7 separate regions of the Homo sapiens genome follow, and all the other regions are linked to region 1. Evidence: promoter capture Hi-C in 16 types of primary human blood cells and fetal thymus (Javierre and others, 2016). All regions are on one chromosome and are shown on one strand. The core of a region is centred on a gene start or on the middle of the fragment in contact, and the rest is flanking DNA. Distances in the headings are between cores, read along the strand shown.

The links. The method cuts DNA at HindIII sites, captures the fragments that hold promoters and counts their contacts. A CHiCAGO score of 5 or more calls a contact.
Region 2: a fragment that was not itself captured here is called in contact with the fragment with the promoter of HELQ in region 1 in 1 of 17 cell types (non-activated CD4 T cells); the score reaches 6.2 in non-activated CD4 T cells.
Region 3: the fragment with the promoter of NKX6-1 here is called in contact with the fragment with the promoter of HELQ in region 1 in 6 of 17 cell types (monocytes, fetal thymus, naive CD4 T cells and 3 more); the score reaches 12.8 in monocytes.
Region 4: a contact is called between a fragment that was not itself captured here and the fragment with the promoter of HELQ in region 1, in 1 of 17 cell types (M0 macrophages). The highest score is 5.7, in M0 macrophages.
Region 5: the fragment with the promoter of WDFY3-AS2 here is called in contact with the fragment with the promoter of HELQ in region 1 in 1 of 17 cell types (M2 macrophages); the score reaches 5.8 in M2 macrophages.
Region 6: a fragment that was not itself captured here is called in contact with the fragment with the promoter of HELQ in region 1 in 4 of 17 cell types (fetal thymus, activated CD4 T cells, naive CD8 T cells and 1 more); the score reaches 9.1 in fetal thymus.
Region 7: a fragment that was not itself captured here is called in contact with the fragment with the promoter of HELQ in region 1 in 1 of 17 cell types (fetal thymus); the score reaches 5.4 in fetal thymus.

Annotation. Positions count from the first base shown.
Region 1 is chr4:83,454,410-83,457,109 of GRCh38, reverse strand. HELQ (helicase, POLQ like) reads left to right here and starts at 1,287. Exons shown (of 18, transcript NM_133636.5): 1 at 1,287-1,713. The coding sequence starts at 1,417. MRPS18C (mitochondrial ribosomal protein S18C) reads right to left here and starts at 1,052. Exons shown (of 6, transcript NM_016067.4): 1 at 933-1,052; 2 at 152-201. The coding sequence starts at 1,032. RefSeq lists enhancers at 1,000-1,294, 1,281-1,390, 1,731-1,780, 1,209-2,039. The HindIII fragment of the contact is 1,733 bases long and covers 1-1,480 here.
Region 2 is chr4:84,584,399-84,587,098 of GRCh38, reverse strand. All of the region lies in intron 1 of CDS1 (CDP-diacylglycerol synthase 1), which reads right to left. Among named protein-coding and RNA genes, the nearest start is that of CDS1, 2.6 kb to the right of the region's middle. The HindIII fragment of the contact is 1,551 bases long and covers 512-2,062 here.
Region 3 is chr4:84,497,973-84,500,672 of GRCh38, reverse strand. It overlaps NKX6-1 (NK6 homeobox 1), which reads left to right and starts at 1,381. Exons shown (of 3, transcript NM_006168.3): 1 at 1,381-2,700. The coding sequence starts at 2,445. The HindIII fragment of the contact is 5,978 bases long and covers 304-2,700 here.
Region 4 is chr4:84,687,574-84,690,273 of GRCh38, reverse strand. It overlaps WDFY3 (WD repeat and FYVE domain containing 3), which reads left to right. Exons shown (of 68, transcript NM_014991.6): 62 at 2,009-2,188. It also overlaps the pseudogene RN7SL552P. Among named protein-coding and RNA genes, the nearest start is that of CDS1, 110 kb to the right of the region's middle. The HindIII fragment of the contact is 2,923 bases long and covers 1-2,700 here.
Region 5 is chr4:84,964,214-84,966,957 of GRCh38, reverse strand. It overlaps WDFY3-AS2 (WDFY3 antisense RNA 2), which reads right to left and starts at 1,342. Exons shown (of 4, transcript NR_152775.1): 1 at 1,100-1,342. WDFY3 (WD repeat and FYVE domain containing 3) reads left to right here and starts at 268. Exons shown (of 68, transcript NM_014991.6): 1 at 268-749. The HindIII fragment of the contact is 8,814 bases long and covers 1-2,744 here.
Region 6 is chr4:82,282,123-82,284,822 of GRCh38, reverse strand. All of the region lies in intron 1 of LOC105377308 (a long non-coding RNA gene), which reads left to right. Among named protein-coding and RNA genes, the nearest start is that of HNRNPD, 91 kb to the left of the region's middle. The HindIII fragment of the contact is 2,033 bases long and covers 325-2,357 here.
Region 7 is chr4:82,354,362-82,357,201 of GRCh38, reverse strand. It overlaps HNRNPD (heterogeneous nuclear ribonucleoprotein D), which reads left to right. Exons shown (of 9, transcript NM_031370.3): 6 at 307-406; 7 at 519-665; 8 at 1,801-1,898. The coding sequence ends at 1,868. Among named protein-coding and RNA genes, the nearest start is that of HNRNPD, 18 kb to the left of the region's middle. The HindIII fragment of the contact is 1,623 bases long and covers 442-2,064 here.

The DNA of each region.
Region 1 (2,700 bases), core at 38-2,537:
GTAATTATCAAATTGTTTTGTCCTACGGCAGAACTCTATTCAAGTAGCTAAAATAAAAGATGTTAGAGTCTAATACCAGATCTCGTTTTAAAAAGAAAAACATTTTGGTCATATTTGCAAAGGCCTTACTAATAGAAAAAAAAATTCTTACCAGGTCCTCATTGCTGGATACCTGTTGTGAACAACCTCTTCTCCAAAGCACTGCGATTAAACAGAAACAGCAATTAACCATTTCTTTTTCTTAGCTGAATAGCTAAAGATTTTTGTTTTTATGGAGACAGGATGAATTAAGGGACACGATATTAAAGAAAGGTTTTGTATTATATTCAGAATGGTTAAAAACTTTTATATTTGGGACAGAGTAAGACTCAACATGGGTGTGCTTTCCAGGGCTTAGGGGGAAAAGAACATATTTTCCCGCCCATACCTGCTCTTTCTGACATTTATTTTCCCTTCATTCCATGGTTAGAGAAAATTCTTAATGCAAATTCTTATAGGAGAAGCAACAGAAAGGCACTGTCATACCAAAAAGAAAGTAACAGACCCGTCCCAGAAAGAATTTATAGAGAAGCACAGAGAAGATAAAATTGCAAAAATTATGCAATTTTGTTCTGTTTGGGGACCTTAGACATCTGGAATTTGCTGCTGGGCGACTCTGGAAATGTCCCTTCCTCACTAAGATTATCCAGAGATCTTAGGAAAGTCTCTGCTTTTTAAGAACCACTCCAACTTCCTCATACGTTTAAATACTTTAAAGGAGTGGATTAGACGACACTAAAACAGTCAAAGGCAATTACAGATTCCCACCCATCTTGGAGAAACTTAATCGCCTAGAAACCAGAGTCGTTTTGCTAACAGGGACGACTCTAACCATTAGGACTAAGGTTAATGCCTGCAGCGCTACAATGGAGCATAGGATATGGAGACTTTACCCGTGTGAGTCCCGGGATGTGTAAGGCTGACAGCAGCCGTTACCAAGTGTGTCAACTTCTTCCTCCCTAGACCACCGCAAACAGCAACCACAGCGGCCATGGTTCCGCGTTTCTTCCACTTCCTTTCGTTCCAAATCGTTCCGAAAGGCCCCTTCCGCTGCTCTTCCCCTGTGGGCTCGAGTACCCCGTTCAAAGGTTCCGCAGGAGAACGCTGAGGACCCGCGAGAGTAGGTGAGGTTTTTCAATACGCATGCGCAGCACCTTTCTGTTCGTGCCCTCCCTACGCGGCAGGTCACGTGAGGCTTATGATTGGACAGGGTAGAAGTTTATGCGTGCTTCCGGTCCGCGAGCCCTGAGAGCTAACTTGGGGTCTTTTCCCAAGGTGGATGTAGAAGCGGGCTCCGGCGTCCCACTCTCCCTTCCATATGGGCTTAGCGTCTGGGTCACTGAGAACGACGTCTGAATAGGGCCCTGGGTCCTTGCCATGGATGAATGTGGTTCCCGCATCCGCCGGCGGGTGTCTCTCCCCAAAAGGAACCGTCCAAGCTTGGGGTGTATTTTTGGCGCTCCCACCGCGGCCGAGCTCGTGCCCGGAGATGAGGGGAAAGAGGAGGAGGAAATGGTGGCTGAGAACAGGAGGCGGAAAACCGCGGGCGTACTGCCGGTTGAGGTACAGCCCCTTCTACTCTCAGATTCCCCGGAATGTCTCGTCCTTGGAGGTGGTGATACAAACCCGGACCTCCTACGTCACATGCCCACTGACAGAGGGGTGGGAGACCAGGTACGGAGGACTTGGAACTTGAAACTGCAAACTTTTGGCATCCTTCCCAGATGCAAAGAGTTGACCAGTTTTATCGCCTTCGTTTACTTCTCTCGTCTTCGTTACCACTGTTAATCGGCACTTAGGAGGTATTGATTGCCTTGTTATTTACATTTCTATATAAATATGAAATGTAAACCCCGAGACATAAAAGTTGTGCACGCAGCAGTTAAGTGGCATGACTGAGACACAAATCTAGGCTTCCAGATAACTGCAGCTCCTACTGTACAAATAAAATCTGCTGTTTATTGAAGACCCGTTATGTTAAGCTAGTTATATTATCTAGATTTTACGACAGTAATCAGGCCCTGAAAAGTTGAGATAGTACAGTTCTTGCTCCAAATCCTGTTGTCTTAATCACTTTACTATATTGCTGCCTCCAGGTTTGTGTGTCTTCTGTGTAGCAGACCACTCCAAGTCAGTATTCAGTTTCTCAGTCTCAATTCCAAATTCCTAGGAACTCCTTGGAGTGTCTAGTGGTACAACCATGTTTCTGTTAGAGGCCAGTCACTGTAGATTGTAGTCTGGGAGGGAAGCGCTGCAGTTATCAGAAACTTCGAATGCGCTGACATTTCAGTAGACGTCTACCAGTCTTCCTGCTGTTTTAGTACAGCTTTAAGAATTACAATCTGGCCGTGTGCAGTGGCTCATGCCTATAATCCCAGTGCTTTAGGAGGCAGAGATGGGAGGATCACTTAAGCCCAGAAGTTCGCGTTCAAAACCAGCCTAGGCAACAGAGACCCAGTCTCTACAAAAAAAAAAAAAAATTTTTTTTTCTTAATTAGCCGGGTGTGGTGGCCTGCACCTGTAGTCCTAGCTACTTGGGAGGCTGAGGCAGGAGGATCGCTTGAGCCCAGGATGTCAAGACTGCAGTGAGCTGTGATCGTGCAGTGGCTGGAGCCACTGTGCTCCAGCCTGGGTGACAGAGCCAGACCCTGTCTCAAAAAT
Region 2 (2,700 bases), core at 38-2,537, 1.1 Mb before region 1:
TGCTTTTCAAAATGTTCCTGTATCCACTCTTCATTCCGTCTTTCTTTTCTTAAGGAAAAGACATGCATCCCTCTTTTCTTTCCTTGGATATCCCAATAATCCATAGTCTCTACCCCATGTTTGCTTTCTTTTTCCTAGGGCCTACCCATTGTCTTCAACATCTTTACTCATTTGACTTTCATACAAATATATATCTCCCCTCCTCTGAAAAGAAAAATCTTCATTAATCCTCCTGTCTCTCTAGTTGCCATCCTGTATTCCTTTCACTGCCACTTTATAACAATAACTACCAACATTTCACCTCTCAATTTCCTCAACCTAAACTTGCTTCTACTTAGATCTTTTGCTAAACTCCACGTTCTATCTCAGCCCTTATTCCTAAGTACTACTGATGATGTCCTCTAAGCCAGGGGTCCCCAACCCCCAGGCCACAGACCAGTACCGGCCTGTTAGGAACTGGGCCTGTTGGGAACCCGGCTGCAGAGCAGGTGAGTGGTCTGCGAGTGAAGCTTCCTCTGTATTTACAGCCACACCCCATCACTCGCATTACCACCGAGCGCTGCCTCCTGTCAGATCAACAGCAGCATTAGATCCTCACAGGAGCTTGAACCCTGTTGTGAACTGCACATGCGAGGGATCTAGGCTGCATGTTCCTTATGAGAATCTAAGGCCTGATGATCTGTCACTGTCTCCCATCACCCCCAGGTGGGACTGTATAGTTGCAGGATAACAAGCTCAGGGCTCCCATGGATTTTATATTATGGTGAGTTGTATAATTATTTCATTATATATTACAATGTAATAATAATAGAAATAAAGTGCACAATAAATGTAATGTACCTGAATCATCCTGAAACCATCCCCCCAACCCATCCGTGGAAAAAAGTGTCTTCCACAAAACTGATCCCTGGTGCCAAAAAATTTGGGGACCACTGCTCTAAGCAATGCCTCCTCCTTTTGCTCTCAGGACCTTCATTATCTCTTCCTCTGTATCTGCAACCCTGTGCCTAGAATGCTGATTCAAGAAAAAACCCAACACGTCCTTTGCCTAGAACACCCTACCCAAACCCTTGTAAACCTGGTGAGTCCCAGGAATCTTTTCATTCCCAGCTCAATCCTCATCCACTGTTTAGAGCTTTTCCTACAGTCTCCAGGTAGACGCCAAGCATGCCCTCTATGCTAACAATGAGCCTTGTACAGACTTCCAATAAATCTAACTCATATATGTCTCCTGCAGGGTTCCTTGAAGATGTCCCTTGTCATTTTTCAAGTACCACTCCAACATTTAACACTTGGGAACATTCCTCTGCAGGTAAGAAGTATTTTTTTCACTTGCTAATTATCTGGAGTACAGAGCCTTCTCTCAGCATAAGTCACCAGTCCGGAACAAAGGGAGTGTCATGTTAATAACACCATTATTAAAAGACTACAAAATGGCAATGCATGGGAGTGTATTATAATAGCAGAATATAATGTACCTCCTTCACTTCTTTCACTAATTCCCCAAGAGTTTTGCCTTTACTGCAACTGAACAGGGAAGGCCCTTAATGAGTTTGAATTGACCAAATATTAACCAGCCTCCAGTGTGCAAACTGATTTTAAAATAGCCCTTGACCTGGAAATACAGGTGTATTCAAATACACACCCTGATAAGAAAGGACAGACAGGGATAGAGTTCAATATCTATCAGCTTGCCAAGTCAAAAGTTCCTCATGATAAACTCTAAAAGTAGAGCAGTATTTTAGATATGGTTTGAATATGTTCATCCTTGTCTAAGAAATCTTGACAAAACAGGTTACATATAGCAAAGTCTACTTTCAGAAAACAAAATCCAGCTGGACATGTGTCAATAAAAACCAACAGTACTGCATTGATAAATAAATAAATATGCAGCGAGGTAACCTAGTCACAGATAGCTAGAGACAACAGTTCTAATGAGTCAAATCACACTACAGAAGTAGTTTCCATTTTAAATACATTATGGTGTTAAAAAAAGAAAAAACTTAATTCCGAAGGTATTTTATGCATGGCTTCCTGAACATCTTTTCTCTTAACAAAAGCTTGTTAGCTTTGTCGAGTTAAGGAAGTCAGCATAGAGAAGCTGGTATTTCCTTGATGCTAAACTATACCAGTGCTAAAAACAAAACAAAACAAATCCCAACCTAATTAATTCTATTTTGGGTCTAGTTTCCAAGGCAGTTTTCACAAAGACTATTCTCAGCCCACTGTTCCTAGTTTTGTAACTTCAACCTTCAGTAGCTGGAAATTGTTATATTTTGGGTAATTCCTTGACACTTATGTTTTATTACAGACTCATTTTATTCTACTTACTATCAAGGGTAAGGGGAAAAGTGTCACTACATTGATTCCATTGATTCTAAAGTTTTAGTACTAAGAATCACGTTTACGTTTATTTCGTGATATCATGTGATATGTTCCTATTAGGGCTTTGTAATTTGGGTTACATCAAACTCATCAACATCAACTTTCAGGTGGAATCCTCCCCAAATCAGAACTGCCAGCCAGTCTCAGCAACCACATAAACCAGAAGAAAAGGAATCAGGAAACTTAGATTCTAGTTTCAAGAGCCACGAACTTGACCTTGGGCAATCCACCTCACTTCTGTAATTCAAACTGCAATGCCTGCTTCCAAAGTATGCTTCTAGAAACAGTTTACGTGTTTTGGGTTTCTCAAATAAA
Region 3 (2,700 bases), core at 132-2,631, 1.0 Mb before region 1:
TTAATGATCTCATCCAAATTTGCTGTAGCGACCACCTTCCAATGGTGTGTTACTTTAACATGCTGAATTCTCAAAATTGTCAAAGGGTTTTCCTTCTCCAGCCCGCAGTTCAACCCTGTCGGGAACGTAAAGATCAGCCAGAGATGGAAGAGATTTAGAGAGTAAAGGAAGCCACCCTTCAACTCCTAAACTCTAGATAGACATCCCACCACCACTGTCCAGGAGCTGGTACATCTCCATCTCCCGTAGCAACTCTAGAATTGGGAGTAGGCGCCAGAGTTTTGGAGAGGGTTTTCAAAAGCTTACAGTTCCCAGGGTGTACCTAGATGCTTCTGTATCTAAAGTTTCCGCCTGAATTTTGATGATTCTACCCCCATGTAAACCCAAAGGAAATAACAACAATAATCAAAGGGAGAAAAGTTAAGGGAAAAAACTCCCTCACTGTTCTCAGGTATAAACATCATCTGACAGATAAATATTCCTATTAAACGGATTCAGTTTTCAGCGAATTGAGTAACCCATAAATGATAATGAACGCGGTGGGAAGCGACGGGCGGGGGGGAACTCGGGAATGAAAAAAAAAATAAAGTGGAGGAGAAAGAACAGAAAAGGAAAGCAGGAGGTGGAAAGATGGAAGAGGACGATCCTTTGGCCTACAAGGGGATTAAGGACATCTATAAGGCTTAAGGAGCAACAAATTAATTTACACAATTCTGGGAGAGCCCAGATGGCCTTTAATTAATCCCTTCAAAAGAAGGAGCCAGGCCAGGGCTGCGCCGGCTGCCTGCTCCATTAGCTCCATTTTACAAGGGACCAGACTTGGTTCGAGGTGAGGCGCCCTCCAGAGCTGGTGGGGGAAGGGGATAGGATGACGCGAGCGGGCTAGTGGGGAAGCAAGGGAAGAATATGAACTGCTTTTCCATAAAAGGGCTGAGTTTTCATTATTCCTCTCTTTAAAAAGTAATACCCTCTTCGTCTCTGCTTCCCCCTCCCCTTTCTCATTTTATTTAGCACAATTAATTGAGGCGGCCACTGGCCCCAGCGCGGAACCGCACCACTCACCAGCTCCCGCCCCTCCTGGCCCCGCCCACAGGAGAAAGAAGTAGGGAGCGGGAGGGGACTAGGCGGGCGCGGCCCTACGCCTGGCCCGCCTCAGCCAATCAGAGGGTGCGGCGCCCCCGAGTGGGCGAGCCCCAGGGGCGACGCAAGGATCGAGGCGGCGAGCTATTGGACACGGTGGTTACGCCCCCGGCCTGCGCCCGGCTCGCCGGCCCCCGCAGCCTCGGAGTGACGTCCCTCAAAGTTCTCATTTTGGTCCCCCACTTCCCCCTCCCTTTCGTCCCCCAGCTAAAGAGGGGTAGGGAGTGATGCAAATGTTTTATTACCTTTGAGAGCTTCATCTGAACTGTCAGGCCCGGAGGGAGAGAGGAAAGGAGAGAAAGAGCGGAGGAGCCGCGGAGAGGGTCAGTTTGGCCAGAGGACAGGACTTAGAAGACCGAAGCCTGGGAAGCCGCGAAGAAAATGCCAGAGAGGAGAGTCAAAGGCTGAGAGTGAGAGGGAGAGAGGGAGCGGGGGTGGGGCGGGGGTCGCCGGGCCCGTTTGCAGAAGTGGACTGACGAGCGGCGCCGAAACCCAGCCGTCAGACTTTTCACACTTAGTCTTTTGTTTTTCTGTGTTTTTCCTCCCCCTTTTTCTTTTCAATATTGCAACTCCAGTGCCCCGTGGGCCAGAGGGCAAGGCGGGTGGAGGTGAGGACCTGGGAGCCGCGGGGATCCGTGGCACTGCCCTTTCTGGCGCAGCAGCCCGGGGCAGCGTGGGCGGAGGAAGCCCGCACAGAGGCTAGATCTCCCGCGGGCTGGATGCGCTTTCTCCCCGGGCACAGTGAGCGTCGAATGCGAATCAGCCGCGCGACCGAAAGAGCAGAGCATCCCAGTAAGATCAGAGGAGCGCCACGGGCTGCACAAGGCGTCCTTTGAACCTCCCCAAAGAAAGCAAGCCACCCCCACCCTCCAACTTCAAAGTGGAGATTCGGCAACTAACTTTGCTACAAACTCTCCGGAGCCAGCCTGGGTTTTGTTTTGCTTATTTCCCGGGGGCAGAAGATGAGAAGTAGCGCACTTTGAACAGCTAGGAAAAGTGAGGAAGAGAGAATAGCCAGGGATCGAATCTAGGACTCGCGGAACGAAAGGACTGCCTAGCCCGCCGGGACGCCTGCTTTTCTCGGCGAGCTGCCGCCTCCCGCGTGGAGGGTTTGGACATCTCTGCTGCGCAGCTAGGCGAGCAACTCCCGGCAGCGGCATTTTTGGTTCAGTTGGCAGCTCGCCTCCGGGCGCGCCGAGTGCCTCTCCGCTCGCGCCCTCGGCGCTTCCGGCTCCTCTGAGCCCCGCGGGGGGCACCAGCCAGCGCCCTCGCTGCAAGGCTACGGTCTCCGGCGTGGCCGTGGGATGTTAGCGGTGGGGGCAATGGAGGGCACCCGGCAGAGCGCATTCCTGCTCAGCAGCCCTCCCCTGGCCGCCCTGCACAGCATGGCCGAGATGAAGACCCCGCTGTACCCTGCCGCGTATCCCCCGCTGCCTGCCGGCCCCCCCTCCTCCTCGTCCTCGTCGTCGTCCTCCTCGTCGCCCTCCCCGCCTCTGGGCACCCACAACCCAGGCGGCCTGAAGCCCCCGGCCACGGGGGGGCTCTCATCCCTCGGCAGCC
Region 4 (2,700 bases), core at 58-2,557, 1.2 Mb before region 1:
TTAGGTAACATATATTTCAGTGTATTTAAGTAATATAAATGCAAAAGTCTAAATTGAATTTTTGCAAACTGAATTATGTTTGCTATTGACTCATATTAATTTCCTTCCAGGGTGATTTCCATTTATCTGCCACTAAATTCTTTATTTTTTGTTTCTCTCTTTTCTCATTTGTCATATACTTAAGGATATGCCAAACTCATGAATATATTCAGTAGAGCCCTTGATGATTTAATTAACGAGTATTTCTGATTGTCTATTACATACATGATTCTATTATTAATTTTTACTTAAAGCAAGAGTCCTTTTATAATTAAGCCATTTCTTAATATTTGATCTGTGAGAGAACTTACCATAAGGTATTTTTTAAATAAGGAGCATATATCTAAGTATTTTTAATGATATAAATTTGAAAAATAATGTAACAATACCACTTATCAATTATTGAGCACCTCTATTTCAGGGGACTGTGTTGAGTATTCTACAAATACAAAACTCTAGTCGACACAATTCTACAAGGTAGTTATTAGCCCCATTTTACCCCTGAAAAAGACACAGGTTAGAGTGGTCAAGACACAAGTCTAAAGTCACATGTAGCAGTAAAGCTATAATTTAAATTAAGTTCTGTCTGACTTCAAAGCTATTATAAAGCCAAACTCAAACAGTGGTGTCATAAATACCTATAGAAAAAAATTGAACCCCTGTTCAGTATAAAACTGAATCATCTGTATAGGCCAGAAACTTCACAGAGTTGCTGGGTCCTGAGGCAAGCCATATAAAGAGGGAGAAAGTCTTGAAGTGAACAGATTACAAGGTTAATAGTACATTTTGCTGATTCAAATTATGCTTAAAAATATTTTCCATTTAGAAAATGCACTTTGAAAGTAATGTGCCAGGAAAAAGGACTTCCTGCTTAAAATAGTTTCCTGGGGTTTGCTAAGCATGCAATAAAGATGTCTATATGACCAAAATTTTAAGCCAACTCTTTTTTTATATTATGCACACACACACATATATATACTTCATGTGTATACACAGATAGTTTTCTCTCTCAAAAGTATTAAAAAATTTATCAACCTTCAATCTGTAAAAAATACCTACTCTACATGATAGCAAAATCTCTCCTCCAAGTTTACACTGATTTACACCCAAGGCTTTCCCCAAATGTACAATAGGAGGCAACCTCTTACATTCTAGTGTGGAAGGCGGCAGATGAAGCCAACTCATTATTAAGCGGATATATTTTTCTGCCAGGGCAGATGGCCCATTCTAAGTACTTAGGAACTACTAACAGTAATCTAAATCTTTTTCTTCAGAATATTTACTTATTTTCACACATTGCCATTTCCTTGGGTCCTTTTTCTCTTCATATTCCAGCAAAAGAGGGAAGTTCTTTTTCTAGTTTAAAGAAAGAATTCCTCTCAGGCACAGATACTCAGATATCTCCGATTGGCAGCAGGACTTCAGCATGTTGACGCCTCAGGACTACATTCTCGCTTTGTCTATTGTAGACCACGTGCTACAGCCATGTGGTTCTCGCAGTTTATGCATTTTTTTAAAAAAAAATTCATTCAATTGTAATTCTTTAGAATGGTCTGAACAGGAGTTTGTGGCATAAAAGAATGGATATAGAGTTGAAATTCTGTATTTTTGATGCCCATAATCAATACATCTCTACATAAAAATGGTATAAAGAAACCCAAGCTGGGTTGTGGTTGTCATTCCCTCTTCCTTCTAAGATCCTGGCCCAACTCCAGGAAAGAACTAATGTGAAAGTAAAGAGCCTCCAGAGTGCTCCAGGCTTCTCTCTACCCCCGTGGGCTGAGGCAAGGGTAGTCAGCAGGAGGAGAAAGGAGGTCTGCCTTCCAGACTCTCCAGACACCACTGCTCAAGTCACCTACTACCTAGCATGCGTGCCACTGCTTCCTGATGCATCCAGGAGCTTCTGGAGTCACTGTGGAACCCTGTCACTGAGATCAACCTGATTTTGTTTGTTTGTTCTCATTCGTAGGCCTTACTGGGCCACACTGATACCGTCACCTGCGCCACAGCATCATTAGCCTATCACATAATTGTCAGTGGGTCCCGTGATCGAACCTGTATCATTTGGGATTTGAACAAACTGTCATTTCTAACCCAGCTTCGAGGGCATCGAGCTCCAGTTTCTGCTCTTTGTATCAATGAATTAACAGTAAGTAGTAAATTGCCCACTTATGTTTAGGTAAACAAGTAGTCTTGGCCAAACTCAATTAAAAATGGTGGGGCTCAGGGGAACATGTCTGAGTTGCAGCTGCTCAGGAGGCTACCGCAGGAGGATTAGTTGAGCCCAGGACTTCTGGGCTGTAGGCACTATACCCATCAGGTGTCTGCACTAAGGTCAGCACCGATTTGGTGACCTCCTGAAAGTCAGAGACCACCAAGTTGCCTAAGGAGGGGTGAACCAACTCAGGTTGGAAATGGAGCAGATCAAAATTCCCATGCTGATCAGTGGTGGGCTGTGCCTGTGATAGCCATTGCACTCCAGCCTGGGAAACAGCAAAACACTGTCTCTTAAAAAAATAAATAAATTTTTCTTCTAAAAAAATGACTCATTGTTTTTGAAGTTGATAGATACTCATTTTATAAAAGTTACTACCTTTTCTTTGATTTAGTGTTGTTTGAAAAGCAAATAGATGTTAAAGTTTGTAATCCAGAGAGCAGTTT
Region 5 (2,744 bases), core at 93-2,592, 1.5 Mb before region 1:
GGAAGAGGCGCGTCTGGAAGGCAGTGGGGAGAGGGACTGAGAGGAGTGGGGTTGAAGTCCAGCTGGGAGCATCCAGCGGCGCTGTCTGCAGACAGGGGCGAAGGCAGCCGCTGAGAGTGAGGCAAGAGCGGGAAGCCGAGGGAAGGGAAGGAAGTAAGGAAAGAGGAAGGAAAGGCAGGAGGGGGTAGAAGCTGAGCGGCTGCAATTTCTGCGGCCGGCTCAGTAGGAGGAGCAGGAGGGGAAAGAGGAGGATCCAGTCAGTCAGTCAGACAGCCAGCGGGAGGTGGAGAAAGCAGGAGGAGGAGGAGGATTAAAGATGGCCACCAACAGCTGCGGGAAACGGCAACAACCCCTCACTTTCCGGGATGGTCCCTGCGGGTCGGCCCGGCCTTGATGGAGAGAAGAAACCCGAGGAGCGCCGAGGCTGAGGCGGCGGCGGCGGGGACCCAGCGAGGACGAGGACGCGGCGGAGCAGGGACGGGGGCAGGAGAAGGGAAAGGCGGCGGCGTCGCTGCCCCTGCTGCCTAGCACCGCTGCCTGGCCCGGCGGACCGGTTCCCATACCTCGCGGCCGCAGAATCGAGCTCGGGCCCCGGCCCCCGGCCCGCGGCGCGGGGCTCCCGGGCCCCGCCGCGGACGTCGCGCCGGTCGCCCCTTCCCCGTAGCCCGTGCGCCCTCGGCGCGGAGCCCCGGCCCGCCGCGGTCCCGTCTCCTGGGCCTGTCCCGCCCGCGCCCTCCGCCGGCCCTCAGGTGAGTACCCCCGCCATCCTCCCCGCCCCCCGCGCTCCCGGAGAGGCGGTGCTGCCTCGGCCCGGCGCGCCTGGCCGCTTTGTTCGTGCGGGGCGGAGGCGCTGCCCACTCGCGGCCCTGCGCCCGCTCCCCCTAGGGACAGGCCGCGGCCCAGCTGCTGTCCTCCCCAGGGTCCGCCTTGGCCGGGAGCCGCCGCCGCCGCCAGGGTGGGCGGCCTGGCCCTAGTCCTCCGCTGCCTCCTGGGGAGGGCGCCGTCGCGGACGGGTCGGGGTCGGGGTCACGGGCGGCGAGCGGAGCGGAGCGGAACCGGGATATTTCGGGGGATAGGGGAGGAGAGGGCTGGACGTTACCTGTGGGAAGCAGTGGGGGCGTAGGCGGCCCTGGCTCGCAGGGGTAGGGGATCAGGCCCTGGCCCCCCCCCGCTGCATCCTGCGGGGTCTCAGCTCCCGGAGCCACCCGGACCTGAGCGCAGCCGAGCGCGGCCTCCATCCCTCGGGCGCTGTCTCCAGGGCTTCGGGCCTCTCCCCCTACGCCCTACGCTGGAAGCCCTTCGATTATGGAAGGAGCCAGAGATGCTCCAGTTCTCTTGTACTGGGGATGTGGTGGCATCGCAAACATTCACAGTTACGGCGGGATTTAAGAAGCAGATGAGACCTTTCCAACCAAAGGCCATCTGGCTAGTGTTTGAGCCTCAGGTGCAGTTTTTCATTGATTTTTACCATTTAATTGTGAGATCTGCAATATCAGGTCTTCCTTTCACAGAAACAATGTGATACAACCAGATTGAAAGGATATTTACTGCATATGTGAACCCTTGCATGGACTTCCAGTACCTTAAAAATGGTTAAGTGTTTTCTGTTGGAAAATGGTGCTCATGCATACGAAAAACTATTTTTGTTCAGTAATGGTTGCCAACTGGTTTACTATGTAGTTTGAACACCAAACAATTAAAAAGGAAAAACAAAACCCTATTCTTCGGGCTTTTTAAATAGTGGCATATTTCCAGGTTGGTATTTGGTAGCAGGTTGAGAACAACTGGTTTCGACTATCAGGCGACGTAACAAACATAACATAAAACAGAACTAAAAATGTGCTAATTTATAGAAAAACATGTTGTATTAGTGCATAAGTCTAGTAAAAAAATCCGACTTTAAAAAAAATAAAACTTTATCATGAGACTCTTAAGTATAGGAATTAGGTTGGTATGTTTTTATGTTTAAAAATATATATTGCATTAGAATTGAGAACTCTTCCTATGATATTTGAGCAATAGTAAAGTATGTTAATACTTTGAACCATTCTATCTCAAGCTGCTAGAAAGAGGTTTCTACTGCTAGTTTCTTTCCATGAGTTAAAATGGATTCATCTGAAATATATGTATGCTTTTGGTGGGTCACAGTGGGTCATGCCTGTCATTCCAGCACTTTGGGAGGCCAAGGCTGGGGGATCACTTGAGGCCAGGAGTTAGAGACCAGCCTGGGCAACAAAGAGAAAACAATTTTTGTAAAGAAAAAAAAAAATGTTTCAAAAAATTTGTATCACCTCCAAAAAGGAGGGATAAGTTAGAAAATACAATGTTCTACTCTTGCATAATCTGTTTTTGAAAAAGTAAATGACAGTATATTTCAATATTAGTTGGATTCTCTGCTTTGAAGAGATTCTTAAATTCCACTGCTCAACTTTGCAATTTTAAAAGTTTACATCAGTTGTTCTTAATTTATTTATTTATTTCTTTTTTTAGAGACAGGGTCTTGCCCTGTTGCCCAGGCTGGGGTGTAGTGGCACGATCACGGTTCACTGCAGCCTTGAACTTCTGGGCCCGAGTGATCCTTCTCCCACAGCCTCCCAAGAAGTTAGGACTACATGTGCATGCCACCATGCCTGTCTAATTTTTCTATTTTTTGTAGAGATGAGGGTCTCCCTGTGTTGCTCAGGCTGATCTTGAACTCCTGGCCTCAAGTGATCCTCCTGCCTTAGCCTCTCTAAGTGCTGGGA
Region 6 (2,700 bases), core at 92-2,591, 1.2 Mb after region 1:
ATCATTTGTCGAGCGCCAGTGTACTTCATAGTGTTTACCTCCTTATGATTTATTCACAATCTAGAGCATGTGAAATGTAGACCTTGATTTTAAAGAAAATTAATTCATTAATCCAGGCATTTATTGAACTCCGGCTGTGCGCTAAATGCCTTAGATTCCTGGGTATGCAAGTAGGTCGGCCCCGACCTTGAAGTTGAGGAGTTCATATTCTAGTAGTGGTTACAGAGGCACAGGCGGAGAAACGCCAGTCTCAAGTGGTATGCGTGTGCTATCAGGGAAAGATGAACAAAGCTGCAGAAGATGGGATGGAGAGCTAGCAAAGCTTTAAAAGTCCTTGACTTAGAGGATGGGTTGGCGTTCTCTAAGTGGGGAGGAAAGAAAGATAGGAGAGTCTAGGCAGAGGGAATAGCTTCTGTAAAGGCTTGAAAGAAGGCAGGTGGGTTTGGGGGATGAGTGTGGCAGAGAAAAGGTGTATGAGAGAGTAGGTAGGAGGGCAGAGTGGAAGGAGTGGTAGCATGACTTTTGTTGTCTTAGACCTTGGGTGCCTTGACAATAATTTTTTAAAAGTGTGACCTTATATATTTTCATCACCAAGGTATTGTGGTAGAGTGGAAAGAGTTTGCCTTTGAAGTCAGACAAACTTAGATTCATATATGGGCATTGCCCATGTACTCCATGAGTTTATGTAACTTAATCTTTCTGAGAGTCAGTTTCCTAGTTCATAAAATGGGGGTAATTGTCAAGTTTAAATGAAATAATTATGCAAAAATATTAGCATACAGTAGTTATGCAATTGCAGTAATTTGTGATAAGTACATATTACTTTCTTGCTCCCAATGGTGTAATCTTTTTTTTTTTTTGAGACAGGGTCTAGAGTGCAGTGGCATGATCACGGCTCACTGCAACCTCCACCTTCTGGGTTGAAACGATCCTTCCACCTCAGCCTCCTGAGTAGCTGGGACCACAGGTGTGTGCCACCACGCCTGACTAATTTTTGTATTTTTAGTAGAGACGGGGTTTCACCATGTTGGCCAAACTGGTCTTGAACTCTTGACCTCAAGTGGTCCACTCTCCTTGGTCTCCTAAAGTGCTGGGATTACAGGTGTGTCACTGCGCCTGAACCCAATGGTGTAACCTTAAAGAATGACAATCAGTATCCTTCTGGGTGTCTGGGTGAAGGCAGGTAGTCAATTCCATTTCCTTTAACACAGGGTAATCAAATTGGATTTGACAAGGAAGGAGCGAAACTGGTCTGCACTATAGCTCCTGAGAAAAATGCCTTGTTGAATCATGTATCCTATATACAGGAAATCTCGAATCAGTGTGTCTTATCAGCTTGATAAGTGTGTCTGTGTTACAGGCAGGGTGACTGATTAAAACCACTGGTCACATTACTTATACCTGGGAAGAGGAAATTTGTTAACTCTGGGGTAATGCTTTTGCTTACCCCAGGGTCTTGCTTACAGTAAAAACAAACCGAATAAACCTCACCACAAATCTATCTTTTTTGAGCCCCTTCTCCCTGGTGAGCTTTCAGCACAGCAGTCATTCTAAGCCTTTAATCCTCCCCTCCAATTGCATACTGTCCCTTGTGCTTTCTTTCCTTCCTGTATGTTTTCTGTATGCTGTATTATGCCTGATAGCCAAGGCTTACTCTAGTCAATGCCAGGTTTCCTCACTTAACTCAGGATTTCTCCCTTTCCTTCTTTCCCCATGGGGTGGCATCTCTGAGTGTGGGAAACTTGGTGGAGGGAAAGAGCTTCCAATTAGTGACCTTCGTCCCTCTAAGGTGGAATCTGCAGCTAATGTTTGTTTTCTGTCTGTCTCTGATCACCAGTCACACACTCTACTTGGAACCCCAAGGCCCCTTTAGGTGCTCTGTTTCTCTTTCAGTCACTTTTTTGGTCCTCTTGGAGGCGAAGAAAAATTCCCACTGCTCCCACATGTCATTGTGAGGCTGCGGGTGGCTCCAGAGGCTGTGTCACAATATGCCCTCCTGTCGCACTCTCCTGTTGTGCTGTGTCACTGCTATCATGTGGGGAGCAGCTTTTAGACCTTACTTCATTTGGGAAGCAAGCTCTTGGATCCCCAATTTACTAGGAGTCTTCTCATCACCACACTATGTCACCCCTCACTTCCTAGAGAGGGCTCTAGCTAGTTGGAGTGCTTCCTTCTCATTCTGTCCTTCTCTGACATGTGGACATTCCAGCAAGTCTAGGTAGGGCAACTCTGACCACCCTGGGCGTTTTCCCAGTTGATGCCATGAACGTTGATTGTCTGAAACCTTTTTTTCCCCATATACTCTGTTTTCAGAGAGTTCCCAAAATCTATTTTGAAACTTTTTAGAATGAGAAGCTTTTCTGTCTTACTCTCTTCTTCCTCCATCTCTCCTTCCTCCTCCTCCATTTTTTTCATTCTCCATTTTTGTGCCAAAGAGAATAACTGAGAATGAAAACCACGGCAGGTAATATAAAATATCACAGACATTTCCACCTTTCCCTTGATAGTTTGATACAATCTTGAGGATGCAGCAGAAAGAGTGGTGAGAAGCTAGGATCCTGGGAAGGTGAAATGGGACATTTCACTGTTGTTAATTTCTTTCACAACATGCTTTTAGACTCATCAGTACTTTGACTGGTGAATACTACTATCATTGCTTTTTATTTTATTTATTTTTGAGACAGAGTCTTACTCCGTTGC
Region 7 (2,840 bases), core at 4-2,503, 1.1 Mb after region 1:
TTGGTTACTTACCATTGACCAACTTTTTGTGGGGAGCAGGATGGACACATTTGTTAGTGTTTTTGTCTAGGCTTTCACAAAAATAGTTTTTAGAACTTGACAAGTAAAATGAAGTAACATCACTAGCAAGTACTCATAAGTGATTACTCTTAAGTACTAAATATTGGTTTAATTAATAAACTGACTGAGGAAAGTTTCAAATTAGCCTACTCTATTTAAACATGTTGGCTATTCTGGTTATTAGAAACTTATTTAGCAACTTTTATTTTCTTGAGTCAGTTTAATAATGTAATTTTTCTCTTTTAGTGTGAAATAAAAGTAGCCATGTCGAAGGAACAATATCAGCAACAGCAACAGTGGGGATCTAGAGGAGGATTTGCAGGAAGAGCTCGTGGAAGAGGTGGTGGTAAGCTAGAGCCTAAGTTTACTCTATCTTAAGCTTTTCTGCTTTTTAATTATCCTGAAGTAAAGATCTTTGCTGATCTTCTGACTTTAGTGAACCTATTAATGTGCTGCAGGCCCCAGTCAAAACTGGAACCAGGGATATAGTAACTATTGGAATCAAGGCTATGGCAACTATGGATATAACAGCCAAGGTTACGGTGGTTATGGAGGATATGACTACACTGGTTACAACAACTACTATGGATATGGTGATTATAGCAGTAAGTACTATACTTTTTATATTAACTGCTATTTGACATTTATTTTGTACAAATTTGGATAGGCAGAAAGGTTAGTGTAGCCTTGCCAAGTGCAAATGTCTTCAGGTTTCAAATTCCTGGAAACTTGAAACTGCAGCCATTTTATTGCTTGGTTCCTCCCAGCCTATATCACACACACATTATAAGGGTAGGGTGTATGTGTGGTTCTATATATGTTTGCTGGGCATTTGTTTTACTTGGATTTAAAAATTTTAAGCTCAGTTCAGATCTTTTAAGCTCAAGGTATTCTAAATGTCACTTCTTGGACCAACCAATAATCTTGGCATGATGTGTCTTAATCCTATAAAACTGAATAATACCACATGTTGCCAGTTAAAACTAATAGTATCCTCGCTTTAGGATTATTAATGTAGAAACTCTTAAAACAGATGTTGAGCTTGATAGAACCAAAAAACTTGACTTTTAGACATGGAAAGCCCTGACTTCATTGTGCAACTAAGGTAGTTGCTCTCCACCTGATTTGTAGCAACTGTTGAGTCGTCAGGTAAAGGGTTCTACTAGAAGCAATCTTACATTTTTTTGGAGGAGAGTGGTTGCATTGGTTGCATTGTTTTAAGTGGTTTTTCTTTTCCTTCCTTGGTTAGACCAGTTCTTGGAGTTATATCCTTTCTTAGGTGACTAGGCCTGCTGCACAATAATAGGTTAATTAAAGTCAGAAGAAGGTCAGCAAAGATGGATTGGGTGAGATTGGGGCCCTTTTCTTAGAAGGGCAGAGATACTAAGCACTGATTGTGGTTGACAATTTGTTCTAAATTTTAAGATATTTTTTGCTGGTGGTTGTGAAAGGGTCAGCTGTCCATCCTTTGAAACTTAAAACTTTTAAACTGTAAGGGTGAGGGGATTGTCTCCCATTTTATACAATAAGTCAAGTAATCAGCTCATTCTGAATGCCTGCCATTGTATGCATTCACTACATATTTGGTAAATTATTTGATAAATGATTGCTCAGGGTGAATTTTTCACACTTGGGAATTAAGCTACCCTTAATTTTTTGAGATTGTTTAAAATTAGGTACTGTTCTGATTATTAGTATGTAACCACTACCGTTCTGGTTCTAACACTTGTTTTATTTTAGACCAGCAGAGTGGTTATGGGAAGGTATCCAGGCGAGGTGGTCATCAAAATAGCTACAAACCATACTAAATTATTCCATTTGCAACTTATCCCCAACAGGTATGTTCTAAAAATAGTTTTTTTTTGTCATTTACAATAGTAGTTTTTATAATCTATATTGTTCATAAAACAATGCTTAATTTAAGAGTTTCACAGCACCCAGAAGTGCTTACCATATTATAACATAGTGACTTTCAAAGATATGTAACACAGGTGCTCTTAAGCTTTTGCCTTTTTGTCCTATTATTAACAAGTCAGTAAAGTTAACAGGTAAAGTACTGCTAATGGGTACAAATTAAGGAATTGCAGCAAAAAAGTATTGCCTACTAACTCTGACATTATACCTTGTTTGTACCCGCCAGCGGGAACTTCATTGCAGGCCCTGTGTCGCGCTGACTTCACGATTCTCACAGGCCCGCTCAATGCGGACAGGGTACGAGATGCTCACGCTCTCGAATGCTGCCGTTTGGTATGGTCTCTTCCAACATCCTGTATCAGCATTATAAAATAAAATGGATACTTCAAGCTTTGCCTTCACTTATTTCTTTGCTTTTTAAAAACTATTTGTAATGTAATTTTAATGCATTTTTTACAGGCCCAGTAATGGTTAAATACGTCAGCTTACTGAATAATTTTAACTATTTATTCTTCTAAGGATACAGCTTGTCTCTGGATTTTCCAGTCTTAATTTTATATTTTATTAATCTATTTTAATGCTTGCTTTTCCCATTTATAGACGTTGTAGCAGTAATTGCAAGAAGTTCTTGAGCTGAATTCCTGTTGTGACAACTTCCTATAATTACAGTAGATAACTTTTTCTTTTAGTCGTATATAACTTTTCTATAACTTGTGATGGACAAGAGATATGCTTATCCAATAAAATAAGCTTAAATATTAGATGCTCTTGGGTCAAAATGTCCTTTTACCAAATTGACCTTTTTATGAGTTCTTTGGGTAAATACTTTAAAGCTTTTTATATTTTAAAGAATACTTGTAAAAGCA